5 separate regions of the Homo sapiens genome follow, and regions 1, 2, 3 and 4 are each linked to region 5. Evidence: promoter capture Hi-C in 16 types of primary human blood cells and fetal thymus (Javierre and others, 2016). All regions are on one chromosome and are shown on one strand. The core of a region is centred on a gene start or on the middle of the fragment in contact, and the rest is flanking DNA. Distances in the headings are between cores, read along the strand shown. Region 1 holds the start of ERP29 (endoplasmic reticulum protein 29). Region 2 overlaps NAA25 (N-alpha-acetyltransferase 25, NatB auxiliary subunit). Region 3 overlaps TRAFD1 (TRAF-type zinc finger domain containing 1). Region 4 holds the start of NAA25 (N-alpha-acetyltransferase 25, NatB auxiliary subunit). Region 5 holds the start of BRAP (BRCA1 associated protein).

Region 1 (2,700 bases), core at 81-2,580, 330 kb before region 5:
GAGACTCAAGAGTGGAAGCAGGGAGACCAGAGAAGAGGCTATTGTAATGTTGACCTAGACTAGGGTGGTAATAGTAGAAAACACTGTTAGCTTTATGGCGCAAAGTTTCCCTTTGGGTCACACTTGTTCTGTGATATTATCTGATTCCCATGGAGCAGGGTGGGGTAGGGGTGTCATTTTGCCAGTAAAGGCCCCCAAAGCATAGGGTGCTGTAGGGTGTGTCTGAGCATGCCTGACAACCAATCAGCCACACCTACACCATTTTTTTTTTTTTTGAGACAGAGTTTTGCTCTTGTTGCCCAGGCTGGAGTGTCATGGCATGATGACGGCTTACTGCAACCTCCACCTCCCAGGTTCAAGCAATTCTCCTGCCTCAGCCTCCCGAGTAGCTGGGATTACAGGCACCCGCCACCACGCCCAGCTAATTTTTGTATTTTTAGTAGAGACAGGGTTTCACCATGTTGGCCAGGCTGGTCTCCAACTCCTGACCTCAGGTGATCTACCTGCCTCAGCCTCCCAAAGTGCCGGGATTACAAGCATGAGCCACCGCACCCAGCCCACACTTTTTTTTTTTTTTTTGAGACGGAGTATTTGCTCTGTCGCCCAGGCTGGAGTGCAGTGGCGTGATCTTGGCTCACCGCAACCTCCGCCTCCTGGGTTCAAGCAATTCTCCTGTCTAAGCCTCCCGAGGAGCTGGGACTACAGGTGTCCACCACCACGCCCAGCTAATTTTTGTATTTTTAGTAGGGACGGGGTTTCACCTTGTTGGTCAGGCTGGTCTCAAACTCCTGACCTCAGGTGATCTACCCGCCTCAGCCTCCCAAAGTGCTGGGATTACAGGCGTGAGCCACTAAGCCCGGCCTACACTTTTAAATTCTTGAAACTTTGCCTTGAATGAGCTGCAAGTGCCAAATCCACGACAGGGAACGCTTGAAAATAGGAGACTTCAACCACTGGAGACAACTACTTCTTGGTTTCACTTCCCCACAATGAGTACAAAACCTGAAAATGAAATGACTGGCTCTCTCGCAACACTAAGCTTGCCCATCTCCTAGAGGAAGTTAAAAGCTGCTCGTGGGTGAAGACAGGTGCAAGAGGAGGGGACTGGGACTGCGGTGTTGCATTCAGCCACCATTTCCAACCGTCCATTTACTCAGGCCAGGATCCCTAATTCTGCAAAAATGGAAGGGGGGAAAGGCGGAGGTAGTGGCAAATTCTTCCATGCCTTGACCCAATTTTACTGATTTTGTTGCCAACCCCAAGATGTTTCCTACAACAGCTATCCCCAACCTTTTTGGCACCAAGAACTGGTTTCATGGAAGACAACTTTTCCACGGGGTTGGGTGGTTTCGACATGAACCTGTTTCGCCTCAGATCATCAGGCATTAGATTCTGATAAGAAGCACACAACCTGGATCCCTCACATGCGTAGTTCACAATAAAGGTCGTGCTCCTATGAGAATGTAATGCCGCAGCTGATGTAACAGGAGGCGGAGCTCAGGCTGTAGTGCTAGCTCGCCTGCCGCTCACCTCCTGCTGTGCGGCCCGGTTTCTAACAGGCCACCGACGGGCCTGGTGGTTGGGGACCCCTGCTTTACAGGGTGGCTGAACTGAAGCTTATTCTTCACGCTTGCACTATTCAAGATGTATGATATCTGATCATTGTTTGCACACTGCAAAGCAGGCTGCAATCCAACCCTGGGAAGAGGGGCGCGGACACGCAGGCTAACGCGCCTGCATTTCCCCCCGCCAACCCCTCCCAGCTTCCACAGCCGGGAGCCCGGTGGCGTCGACCTCGCACCGCCCTCCGGTTCTCCCACTTGGGACTCGAGGGTTGGATCTCGCCAGGCACCGCCCTCTCCCCACAGGTGAAGGGAAGGGGCACCCAGTTCCCTCGGCTGCATCTTTGCAAGGGTGGATGCAAGTATAAATGCTGCAAAAGCAAGGGTGCGCCGGGGCCCTGAAGCGTGCATGCCCGGTGGTCATAACATTCTCCGCTCAGAGTCCACTAGGCCTGTAGGACGCCGGGAAGCTCTGGGACCGTTGCTACAGACCACCTCCCGTCAGCTCCCGGAATCCAGCGTCTCCCCACGGGCGCGCGCTCTTCCGGGCGCCCCGGCGGCACCTGCGCGCGACGTCCCCCGCCCCGGTTACCTTGTAGAAAGTGACCGTATCCAGGGGAAGGGCGCCCTTGGTGTGCAGGCCGCTGCCGCCATGCGGAGCGGAGAGGAGCAGGAAGCCCAGGAGAAGGGGAAGCAGCGGGGAGAGAAATGCGGCGCGGGGCACAGCGGCAGCCATATCGCCGGGTTCCTGCAGAGGGAGGTAGGTAAGCGATAGTGGAGAACGCCCCGAGTCAGCGGTCACGTGACTGGGGGGGCGGACTCACGCGCGCTCACGTGGACACCCCAGGAGGCTCCCATCTGTCTAGGGTGAGAGGGTGGGGCCACGTGAGGGGCGGGGCGAGGGAGGGGAAGCTGCTGCGCACGCGTACTCGGCGAAGCTCGCGTAGGGCCTGGGTAAAAGGGCGGGGCCACGTTGCGGGCGGGAAAATGGGCTCCTGCGCGCGCGCACTCGCCGAGTCTTCCGGCGGGTCCGCCCAGTTCCGTTCCTGCTCCGCTTGAGGAGAAGCGCCAAGTGCGCATGGGGACGCTATAGCAATTCGTTTGCTGTCCTTCCTCTCCTTCGAAGATGACAAGGCCT
Region 2 (2,700 bases), core at 35-2,534, 360 kb before region 5:
GTTCAAGTATCTGTACTTGCCCTCCTGTTTTCAAGAGGTTTCACTAACTCAAAAAAAAAATCAAAAGGATTGGTTTCCTCATCTCATTATTTATGGCCTCATTTCTGTATTTATAAGAGAGATGAAAGAAACATTTGATTTACTGAAGATTCCTTTTCAAAGGTTTGTTTCTCAAATAGCTTTGAGGTAGTGGGAGTAAATCAGGGATTAATTCCAGCCCGGTGGCTGGTTTTCCTCTAGCTTTCAATCATGCAGCATTCTAGAAGAACTGTATTACTCATGAAGATGTGGTCAATAAAGACACATTACTTTATATACATCAGAATTAGGCTTTAATTTTTTCCCACAAATATTGTGTCTGAAGAGTTGTTTTGAAAGAAAATCTAAAAATAAAATTACAAAAGTGTTGCAATATAGGCAAAGGAGACCCCTAGGAGCAATTTGAGGGGATGTGTCATCCTCAGAGTTTTTTTTGTATCTTTGTTTTATGTTTTGCTGATGGTTGTGTGTGGCAAAAGTGACTAATTCATCTGAATGTATGTGATGTTGAACCTGATAAAATTATAGCATTTTATTGATCAGAGACTAGGACACTTGAAATATATTTTGATTACCGCTAAGAAGATAGAGCTTATTAAATCTGCTGACAGGAGATAATCTTGAAGAGTCCTAGAGGCAAAAGAAAAATACAGTACAGGCTGGGCACAGTGGCTCACGCTTGTAATCCAAGCACTGGGAGGCCGAGGTGGGTGGATCACCTGAGGTCAGGAGTTCAAGACCAGCCTGGCCAACGTGGTGAAACCCCATCTCTACTAAAAATACAAAAATTAGCCAGGCATGGTGGTAGGTGCCTGTAATCCCAGCTACTCGGCAGGCTGAGGCAGGAGAATTGCTTGACCCGGGAGGTGGAGGTTGCAGTGAGCTGATTGTACCATTATACTCCAGCCTGGGTGACGAGAGAGACTCTGTCCCCCCACCAAAAAAGAAAAATATGGTACAGCTAGGAACATGTAGCTTGACCTTAATGTTGAGTGCCAGATAGAGACTGTGGTGTGAACTGTTTCCTAAAGAAATCTAAGGCTAAGAAAGATTATGATTGTAGTGTCTTACTGTGTGTGTTCAACCTTGTGCTTAGAGTATCAGAAATATCTCTCTTCAAATCCAGAGCTCTATACTATGCATCTTTTATTCTTGGTAGTTTTTGGGATCCCCGGATGCTTTTTCCTTGGGTGACTGATGCATTTCAATTCCCACCTAGCTCTTTGACAGGACACTTTTACTTAAATGGAAAATCTAGTGTTTTGCTTAGTAATGTTTTGTGCTATGGGATTGAAAGTTGTATTTGGAAGGTCTGCATAGGGATTTTCTTTCTAGAAAGGTTATTTTCTGTTGTCATCTTACTTTGGAATAGATTTTTAAAAATATGAAAATAAGCACTAGATTTTCATATCTTTAAAAGTCACTTACGTGTTTTTACTTCTTAAAAATTTCCCTTTAAAATCTCTATTTTATACAAAAATTATCTGGGTGTGTTGGCGAGCGCCTGTAATTCCAGCTACTTGGGAGGCTGAGTCAGGAGACTTGCTTGAATCTGGGAGGTGGAGGTTGCAGTGAGCTGAGATCATACCACTGCACTCCAGCTGTCACTCTTGGATGACAGAGTGAGACTCTGTCTCAAAAAAAAAAAAAAGTAAATAAAAGAAAATATAATCTCTAGGTATTCACAAAGGTCATTATTCAGGGGTTTTATGTCCATATATTTCACTAATTTTTACAGTGACCAGGGTTCATTTCAGGAATCCATTCGGGATCTAAATAGCCTCATTGGTGCATAAATGAGTAGAAAATAGGTACGGACAACATACTTTGATATTCAAAAGTCTTTAAAGTGCCTGTGGCTTTCAGTTTTGCCTGCAGTTCCAGTAGGGGGTTGTTTCTTCACGTAGTACTACTTCCACAGCCTTGGTCCTAGTGGTTGCATCCCAGGCCCTTGTCTAGCTCTGCAGTGGTACTTTACTGCAGTGTTACAGAAGGACTATCTAAAAAAGATAAGCCAGAGAACTGTGACTACCTTCTTAGTTTGTTAAAGACTATACTCTCTTTGTTGCCCCTTATTTTTCTCTTTGAAAAGCTATTGCCTTTTTTTTTTTTTTTTTTAAATAAAGTGGTGTTCCACGGACCACTTAGAAATTAAAACTGCCTCTACACTTGGTAAGGCTGGGTTCCCTCCTTAAATCATAGCATACTTTGGAACTGTAATTATAACTTTGATTGGAATTACTAAAGTCATATTTTCTTTTTGATTAATTACTGAATCATGTGTTCCTAACCAGCTGTTTTTTTTTCCCCAGCTGTAAGTTCCTATTACAAGGGCTAATAGTAGTAAACCTTGCTGTGTTTTCTAAGCCAAGGGGCCATAGGATAGGCATATGTGTTTAGAGTATCCTGGCCTCCTCTTGATAGGGTGTATCACTGTCCTTTAATCAAGCTAGAAGGTATACTCGAGCTTTTTCAGGTAGTCCTTCTTGAAACCTGCAGGATCACAAGTAATCTTTTTAATTTTCTTGTGTCCGTCCGTCTTTAATTTCTCCAGATACTGCAGGCAAACAGCTCGCCGAGGTGTCCCATGGGGGTTTAAAAGCCGCATCGAATGCAGTTGAATTAGCGCCCGTGGCGCAATCCCGCGGCCTGAAATGAACC
Region 3 (2,700 bases), core at 100-2,599, 440 kb before region 5:
TCTCTACTAAAAATACAAAAATTAGCTGGGTGTGGTGGCGCATGCCTGTAATCCCAGCTACTCGCGAGGCTGAGGCAGGAGAATCGCTTCAACCAGGGAGTCAGAAGTTGCAGTGAGCCAAGATCGTGCCACTGCACTCCACCCTAGCGACAGAGTAAGACTCCGTCTCAAAAATAAATAAATAAATAAAAATAAAATAACATCCCTTACAGACTTCATCCAATTACCCTAAAAGCATCATAACAATAGTAAAATTATCAAATAGAGGAAATTAACACTAATACAATACTAGTAACTAATCTATAGAATTCATTCAAATTTCACCAACAAGTCAGGCACAGGGGCTCATGCCTGTACTCCCAGAACTTTGGGAGGCTGAGCTGAAGAGGATCGCTTGAACCCAGGAGTTTAAGATCAGCCTGGGCAACATGGTGAAACCCTTCTCTACAAACAATTTAAAAATTAGCCAGACGTGGTGGCACACACCTGTGGTCCCAACTACTCAGAAGGCTGAGATGGGAAGATCACTTAAGCCCAGGAGGTCAAAGCTGCAGTGAGCAGTGATTGTACCACTGCACCCTAGCCTGGGTGACAGAGTGAGATCCTGTCTCAAAAAAAAAAAAAAAAAAAAAAAAAATCACCATCCCACCCTTTTTCTGGTTCAGCATTCAATCTAGGATCACACACTGCATTTGGCTATTACTTGTAGTTAATCTCCTTTGATTTGGGAGAGTTCTTCAGTCTTTCCTTCTCTTTCATGACCTTGTTAAGCATACTGGCTTTTTTTTTTTTTTTTTTTTTAAACAGAGTCTCACTCTGCTGTCTAGGCTGGAGTGCAGTGGTGCGATCTCGGCTCACTGCGATCTCGGCTCACTGCAACCTCGACCTCAGCCTCCTGAGTAGCTGGGACCACAGGTGTGCACCACCATGCCCAGCTAATTTTTGTATTTTCAGTAGAGATGGAGTTTCACCATGTTGACCAGGCTGGTCTCAAACTCCTGACCTCATATGATCCACCAGCCAGCCTCAGCCTCCCAAAGTGCTGGGATTACAGGCATGAGTCACCGTGCCCAGCCAGCTAGTTATTTTATATAATATCCTTCAATTTGGGTTTGTCTGATATTTTCTCATGATTAAATTCAGGTTATATATTTTTGGCAAGAACACCATAGAAATCATGTTGTGCTCATCTCAGTGCCTTATATCAGAAGGTACATGATGTCAACAGTCTTATTTTACTATTGATGTAAACCATGATCACATAGTTGATATGGTGTCTGCCAAATTTCTTCACTATAAAGTTTCTCCTGCTTTTTAAACAAGATGTCAATGCAGAAAGCAAAGCACTGGCAACTTTACTACCATTGTTTAGTTTAGATTATTCCTTTCCATGATACAAAAATGGTCTTAAATCCTGCCCCCAGTAGGGTTCTTTAAAGGTTTTGGCATTATCAAGCGAGTTGCCACTTTTCAAAACATGTATTTAGTCATTTGTTCAACATGCTTAATTAAGACAATACTTTGAGGCTGGGTCCAGTGGCTCATGCCTGTAATCCCAGCACTTTGGGAGGCTGAGGTGGGCGGATCACTTGAGGTCAGGAGTTCAAGACCAGCCTGGCCAGCATGGCGAAACACCTCTCTACTAAAAATAAAAAAATTAGCCGGGTGCCTGTAGTCCCAGCTACTAGGGAGGCTGAAGCAGAATTGCTTGAACCCGGGAGGTGGAGGTTGCAGTAAGCCAGGATCACACCACTGCACCCCAGCCTGGGCAACAGAGTGAGCCTCTGTCTCAAAAAATAAAAATAAAAAAAAAAAGGACAATACTGTGGGCCAGGTGCAGTGTCTCACACCTGTAATCCCAGCACTCTGGAAGGCTGGGGTGGGTGGATCACTTGAGCTCAGGAGTTCAAGGCCAGCCAGGAAACATAGTAAGACCCTGCCTTTATAAAAAATAAGCAGCCGGGTGCGGTGGTTCATGCCTGTAATCCCAGCACTTTGGGAGGCCGAGACAGGTGGATCACAAGGTCAGGAGATCGAGACCATCCTGCCTAACATGGTGAAACCCAGTCTCTACTAAAAAGAGCTTGCAGTGAGCCGAGATCACGCCACTGCACTCCAGCCTGGGCGACAGAGCGAGACTCCCTCTCAAAAAAAACAAAAAACAAAAAAGCAAAAAATTAGGTGGGTATGGTGGCACATGCCTGTAATCTCAGCTACTTGGGAGGCTGGGGTGGGAGGCTGAGGTAGTCCCAGCTACTTGGGAGGCTTGAGCCCAGGAGGTCGAGGCTACAGTGAGTGAGTTGTGATCACACCACTGCACTCCAGCCGGGGTGACAGAGTGAGACCCTGTCTCAAAGAAAAAGAAGACCATACTGTGTGCCACTGTGCCCTGGCACTAAAAATACTTTACAAAATAAGGAAATATAGTCTCTGATAAAGCGATTTAGTGGTAGAGAAAAACAATAAGCAAAAAAATACATATAACTTGAGTATTGTGATGGAAAAGTATACTGACAAATAAATGGGGGCGGAATAGAGGCAAATCTACTTTAGGTAGATAAGAGTGGTCAGGGAAGAACTTTCTGGGGAGACGACATTTAAATTAAGAACTGAAGTACAAGAGCCAACCACGAAAAGACAAAGATAGAGGATGGGAATGCGGGGAAATCCATCCAGGCAGTGGGAAGGGCAAAAGGCCTA
Region 4 (2,700 bases), core at 201-2,700, 420 kb before region 5:
AAACCTCCGTGATTTAGTAGGAGGCAAGATAAGGATAATCACCCCAGCACCTATTGCCATTTAGATTAAGTAAATTTACTGAGGCTTCAAAGGAAAGTCTTCAGGACTCAAACCTTAGTTATAGACTAAAGTGAGTTAATCAATTATTATTATTATTATTTTTTTTTTTTTGAGACGGAGCCTCCCTCGCCCAGGCTGGAGTGCAGTGCCGGGATCTCGGCTCACTGCAAGCTCCGCCTTCCGGGTTCACGCCATTCTCCTGCCTCAGCCTCCCTAGTAGCTGGGACTACAGGCGCCTGTCACTGCGCCCAGCTAATTTTTTGTATTTTTAGTAGAGATGGGGTTTCACCGTGGTCTCGATCTCCTGACCTCGTGATCCGCCCGCCTTGGCCTCCCAAAGTGCTGGGATTACAGGCATGAGCCACCGCGCCCGGCGAGTTAATCACTTATGTCTTTAGATGAATGCACATTTACACGTAGACATATAGCTTAGAAGGTATATAAGCTCTGGAAAGCTTTGTAATTTTAAGTTGGTCTGGTGATAATTTCCAGGCCTTCTCCCTGTAACTGGTTGCAGAAATAAAAACTCGCTTCCTCTCCAGTTCATCTGCATCTCCTTACTGAACCAGGAGAAACAGCAGCCTGACGCTCAGTTTGGTCCAGGAACAGGTGGTGGAGGGCTCTCGAACTTTTTTCTTTTTTTTTTTTTTTTTTTGAGATGGAGTCTCGCTCTGTCGCCCAGGCTGGGGTGCAGTGGCGCGATCTCGGCTTACTGCAAGCTCCGCCTCCTGGGTTCACGCCATTCTCCTGCCTCAGCCTCATGAGTAGCTGGGACTACAGGCGCCCGCCACTACGCCCCGCTAACTTTTTTTGTATTTTTAGTAGAGATGGGGTTTCACCGTGTTAGCCAGGATGGTCTCGATCTCCTGACCTTGTGATCCGCCCGCCTCGGCCTCCCAAAGTGCTGGGATTACAGGCTGAGCCACAGCGCCCGGCTCTCTCGAACTTTTTTGGCAGATTTTTGCTGTTGATCAGCCCCGCTTCCCCAACTTTCCCCTGGGTCTCTCTCCCCCGGGAGTTTCTGGTTCCTCTGCGATTAATCACAGCCAAGTCTAGCTGGTTCTTCAGGACGGAGAATAAATAGGATAAACAGGAGCAGCCGAACCCTAACTTTGAGAGCTTTCTCCCCTCCTCTCCTAACTTCCCAGTCAGTGACTCGGAAGACTTTAACAGCAACAGCTGCCTCCTCTTGCCAGCTTGATCCCACCTGCTAAGTGAAGGAACAGCGTTTAAAGAGGTGGCAATCGGCAAGGGTGGATGCTTCCCTTTCCGCGCAGGCGCGTTCAGTCGCAGCACCGCGACTATCGTGATAGACAAGCGAGATCGACGCTGGCCCTTTAATAGCCCTTTCCCGGGGTCCTGCCCCGCGCGTGCGCACTGTGGTTCTGCGCTTGTCATCATGGCGACGCGGGGCCATGTGCAGGACCCTAACGACAGGCGCCTCCGGCCCATTTACGGTGAGTGTCTTGGACCAGCCCGCTCGCCAGCCCGACGCGCCGAGGGCTGCCGAGGCTGGGGCGAAAGCCCAGGAGGGGTGCTGAGGGCCGGCGCGCGGGCCGGGCAGGCGCAGGGGGGCGGGCCGCGCGGGCCACTAGGCCGCAGCCGCGGGCCTCGCGTAGGCGCCGGCCCAACCTTCCTCAGCCTTGGGGTGGTAGTGGCGCGGTCTGGGCAGCAGCTGGTCGGCAGAGCTGGCCTGCTTGGCAGGCCCCGTGGGACGCGTGGTTCTGCAGACACCTGCGCTACCCGCAGGCTGCATCGTTACCGCCGCTCCTAGGGAGACCGGAGATCTCCCCGAAGGTGGAAGCCGGCTCCGGCACGAGGGTGGGACGCCCTGCCTGAGGGAAGATTCCCTACCAGAGATTTTTTTTTATTTACGGGAATTGGGCCTAGAGGGTTGTCTGACTAGGTGGGCTTCGGTGCATAGGAGAAACTGAGGTCCGGAGTGGGGAAGGGGCTGACGCAAGGTCACCCAGATCGAGTCAGGAGCAGGCCCGAGATTCCAGGCTCCCAATCCAGAGCTGTTGGGTGGAGAAGCAGCTACTCTGGTCACACGTGGGAGGCGGGGGGAGGGGGTCTTGGGCCTAAAATAGCGGTGAAGAGATTGTGATAGCTCGTGTCAGAGGGGCATGCAGAGCTACTGGAGGGCTTCTCCTTTCTGCAGCTTCTCTGTGGTTTTCTCTGCAGCTTTCCTTCCCTGTGCTAAGCAGATCCCTCTCCACAACTCTTACCTCAACCCGCAGACTTGAAGACCTTGATGTCATCTCATCCATTTACCCTGGTAGTGAAAAATCACAGATTTTGAGTTTGGGAGAAACCCTTTTCCAATAACCGAAATGTGTAATTGGATTGGTCCTTTTTGCATTTCCTTTCCTCTTAGATGGTTTTATGGTCTTGGTCTATCTCACTTAATGGTGAGGAAGCTTCAAGGTCAGTGGTTTTTACAAAAGTAGACATCGTATTTATAGACCTCATGTGGATGTTACTAAATTGGAGGCTTCTCTCCAAGGTGGGAATCGTTTTGGGAGCGGGGGGCGGTGGTTAACTTTGTTTCTGGCCACAGTTAGTCCGGCTTTTATTTCATAATTTGTGTGATTTTTTTTTTTACTCTCACATCTCATTTGATTTTAGCAACAATCCTAT
Region 5 (2,700 bases), core at 127-2,626:
TTAATAGTGCAGAGTTGAGAAACCCTGATTTAAACAGGGCATATGGAAACGTATTTCATAGGATGTAGTCACAAGATCTATATACGCATGTATCTTGTGGTCATGTCATAGTCCAGATACACACACATCTAGAACGCACTATGTCCACACACACACACATCTAGAATGTACTATGTACTTACATATGTATCATTATACAATGTACCTAGAGTAGCATCCTGTCATGTATGTGTCCCATATGCATTGATTGTGTCAGTATCTACATACAAAAGCCACTCTGACATACTGGAAAGAATGCTGAGCCTCAGAAAAGCTAATGTTATCTCCATATACATAATTCCATTTCATCCTCACAACTGCATGAGGACATGATATCATGCCAACTTTATGCAATGACTATACTAGTTCAAGACTGCACAACTGCTGATGTAGGTCAACCTCATAGTACGGACAGGAACTGTGTTTATCTTATACGCCAACGTATCTCAAGCATCCCAAGGGTGTCTAGACTCTCAGTAAACATTTGTGAAGTGACAGGGTGGGGAGGAGGACCCCGGTCTAACTGCAGCACTATGCTCGTAACCAGCAGATCACCATCTTTTCTCTCTTTTTTTTGAGACGGAGTTTCGCTCTTGTTGCCCAGGCGGGAGTGCACTAGCACTATCTCGACTCACTGCAACCTCCGCCTCCCGGGTTCAAGCGATTCTCCTGTCTCAGCCTCCCAAGTAGCTTGGACTACAGACGCGCGCCACCAAGCCCGGCTAATTTTTTGTATGTTCAGTAGAGACGAGGTTTCACCATGTTGGCCAGGTTGGTCTCGAACTGCTGACCTGAGGTGATTCGCCCGCCTAAGCCTCTGGGCTGGGATTACAGGCGTGAGCCACCGCGCCCAGCCAGATCGCTATCTGAACAGCGATCGACTCTCCACTCTCTACGGCCCCTTAGAAGGAACTTCACCTCTCTGAGCCTCGTTGTACCTATCTGTAAAGTGGGACAGAAACAAAACCATCCAGACTAGGGTTAGAGACAGGAGTCAAACACAACAAAAGGGGCAAAGTTCTGCATAGCAGATAGCTCGGACAATTCGGAGACCTCGCGGAGCCAGGGATCCCGCGCCGTCAGCCGAGGTGGATTAGGACGAGGCCTCTGGAGCAAGCAGAGGTTAACTCGCGACTGTGCGAAAACCTGCAGCTCAGCCTAAGTGTGGCACCCCAGCGCAAGCAATCTCCACGACGTCCTTCCGCTCCGACCTCCTCAAAATTGCGTCCGGAAGAGCAGTGGGTGACCCCTGCCACGCCGCCCAATCGCTGTGCGCGGTCCTGCGCGCATGCGTAAACCGCAGGTCAGCGACGGCGGCCGGGAGGCGGAAGTGGAGGTTGTTGTGGCTCCGAGGGCTGTTCGAGGAGCTGCTGCTGCTGAGGCGGCGGCAACTGCATTGAGGTGGTGGCGGCGCTGCCGGCCCCGGGCCGCTCGGCCTCTCGGCTCGCCTTCCAGCCTCGCCTGAGCCCGCCGGGGCCCGCGCCGGCCAGCGCCTGCCCTATGAGTGTGTCACTGGTTGTTATCCGATTGGAGCTCGCGGAACACTCGCCTGTCCCCGCCGGCTTCGGCTTCAGCGCCGCGGGTGAGTCCCGCGGCCTCGCCGCATTCCCTGTAGCCGGGTCTGGGCCCGGAGGGCTTCCCTTCCCAAAGCACTGGCCCGGGAAAAGCCCGCGGCGAGGGCTGTTGCCCAGGAAGACACGGAGAGGTAATCGGGATCCCTCTCTTTCCCATCCGCCTTTGAGAGGCCTTCCCGTTTGTTATCTCAGGGAAGCCCTGCCCCGAACCTCCCTCCCTGTGCCGTCTGAGGGCATTTAGTTTATACCTGGCGCGTCTCCCTCTCGAGATAGTCGAGTGGTGTGTTTGTCTCACTTGCTTCCCTATGGGCTTCGTAAAGGCAGGGACTGGGTCCCCAGCAACGCTGGACGGTCCCTGGGTTAATTAAATTGTTCCCTTTTGGAACGATATCCATTGAAGTGCCCCCTAACCATAGTCATAACTAAAATTTGGACACTTCCTATATCCCAGCACTGTACTAAGCACCTTTTGTGTATTGTATTCTTTAATTATCTTTGCAACAGCCCTAAGAGGCAGATGGATGTGACATGTACCTCTTACACATTGGGAAACTGAAGCTTAGTGATTAATTGATTTGCCCAAGGTTATCTGTAATGGGTGAAACTGGGATTCTAACTCAGTGAGCTGGACTTGAGTCTGAGCTTTTTACACCATTAACACAAGTGAGGAAGCTCCTTAGTGGGGAATGCAGCTCTGGCTCTGTTCCTTGGTCCTCAGATAATTAACTAACATTCATTCAAGAAATACTTGGCCGGGCGCGGTGGCTCACGCCTGTAATCCTCACACTTTGGGAGGCCGAGGCGGGCGGGTCACCTGAGGTTGAGAGTTCAAGACCAGCCTGGCCAACATGGTGAAACCCTGTCTGTACTAAAAATACAAAAATTAGCTGGGCGTGGTGACAGGTGCCTGTAATCCCAGCTACTGGGGAGGCTGAGGCAGGAGAATCGCTTGAACCCGGGAGGTGGAGGTTGCGGTGAGCCAAGATTGTGGCACTGCACTCCAGCCTGGGCGACAAGAGATAAAGTCCATTTCAAAAAAAAAAACAAAAAAAAAACTTATGCTCATATCTGCTGGAGCCTTCCTTGT

Evidence for each region. Contacts are between HindIII fragments. The CHiCAGO score rates a contact against its expected background, and 5 or more counts as called.
Region 1: a fragment that was not itself captured here is called in contact with the fragment with the promoter of BRAP in region 5 in 1 of 17 cell types (fetal thymus); the score reaches 5.3 in fetal thymus.
Region 2: a fragment that was not itself captured here is called in contact with the fragment with the promoter of BRAP in region 5 in 1 of 17 cell types (M2 macrophages); the score reaches 5.4 in M2 macrophages.
Region 3: a contact is called between a fragment that was not itself captured here and the fragment with the promoter of BRAP in region 5, in 1 of 17 cell types (non-activated CD4 T cells). The highest score is 5.5, in non-activated CD4 T cells.
Region 4: the fragment with the promoter of NAA25 here is called in contact with the fragment with the promoter of BRAP in region 5 in 1 of 17 cell types (fetal thymus); the score reaches 5.0 in fetal thymus.

Annotation. Positions count from the first base shown.
Region 1 is chr12:112,013,064-112,015,763 of GRCh38, reverse strand. It overlaps ERP29 (endoplasmic reticulum protein 29), which reads right to left and starts at 2,338. Exons shown (of 3, transcript NM_006817.4): 1 at 2,155-2,338. The coding sequence starts at 2,298. It overlaps TMEM116 (transmembrane protein 116), which reads left to right and starts at 2,599. Exons shown (of 11, transcript NM_001193531.2): 1 at 2,599-2,700. RefSeq lists enhancers at 865-1,004, 2,675-2,700 and silencers at 2,005-2,094, 2,435-2,514. The HindIII fragment of the contact is 577 bases long and covers 1,042-1,618 here.
Region 2 is chr12:112,049,505-112,052,204 of GRCh38, reverse strand. The region is part of intron 15 of NAA25 (N-alpha-acetyltransferase 25, NatB auxiliary subunit); the gene reads left to right. The region is part of intron 1 of LOC124903022 (a long non-coding RNA gene); the gene reads right to left. Among named protein-coding and RNA genes, the nearest start is that of MIR3657, 13 kb to the right of the region's middle. The HindIII fragment of the contact is 5,003 bases long and covers 1-2,700 here.
Region 3 is chr12:112,127,131-112,129,830 of GRCh38, reverse strand. All of the region lies in intron 1 of TRAFD1 (TRAF-type zinc finger domain containing 1), which reads right to left. Among named protein-coding and RNA genes, the nearest start is that of TRAFD1, 2.9 kb to the right of the region's middle. The HindIII fragment of the contact is 4,265 bases long and covers 1-2,700 here.
Region 4 is chr12:112,107,533-112,110,232 of GRCh38, reverse strand. It overlaps NAA25 (N-alpha-acetyltransferase 25, NatB auxiliary subunit), which reads left to right and starts at 1,450. Exons shown (of 24, transcript NM_024953.4): 1 at 1,450-1,517. The coding sequence starts at 1,460. RefSeq lists silencers at 1,501-1,580, 1,601-1,680. The HindIII fragment of the contact is 1,965 bases long and covers 518-2,482 here.
Region 5 is chr12:111,684,632-111,687,331 of GRCh38, reverse strand. BRAP (BRCA1 associated protein) reads left to right here and starts at 1,376. Exons shown (of 12, transcript NM_006768.5): 1 at 1,376-1,621. The coding sequence starts at 1,540. It overlaps ACAD10 (acyl-CoA dehydrogenase family member 10), which reads right to left and starts at 1,279. Exons shown (of 21, transcript NM_025247.6): 1 at 1,093-1,279. RefSeq lists a silencer at 1,504-1,603 and enhancers at 948-1,649, 1,650-2,351, 2,352-2,700. The HindIII fragment of the contact is 2,811 bases long and covers 1-2,173 here.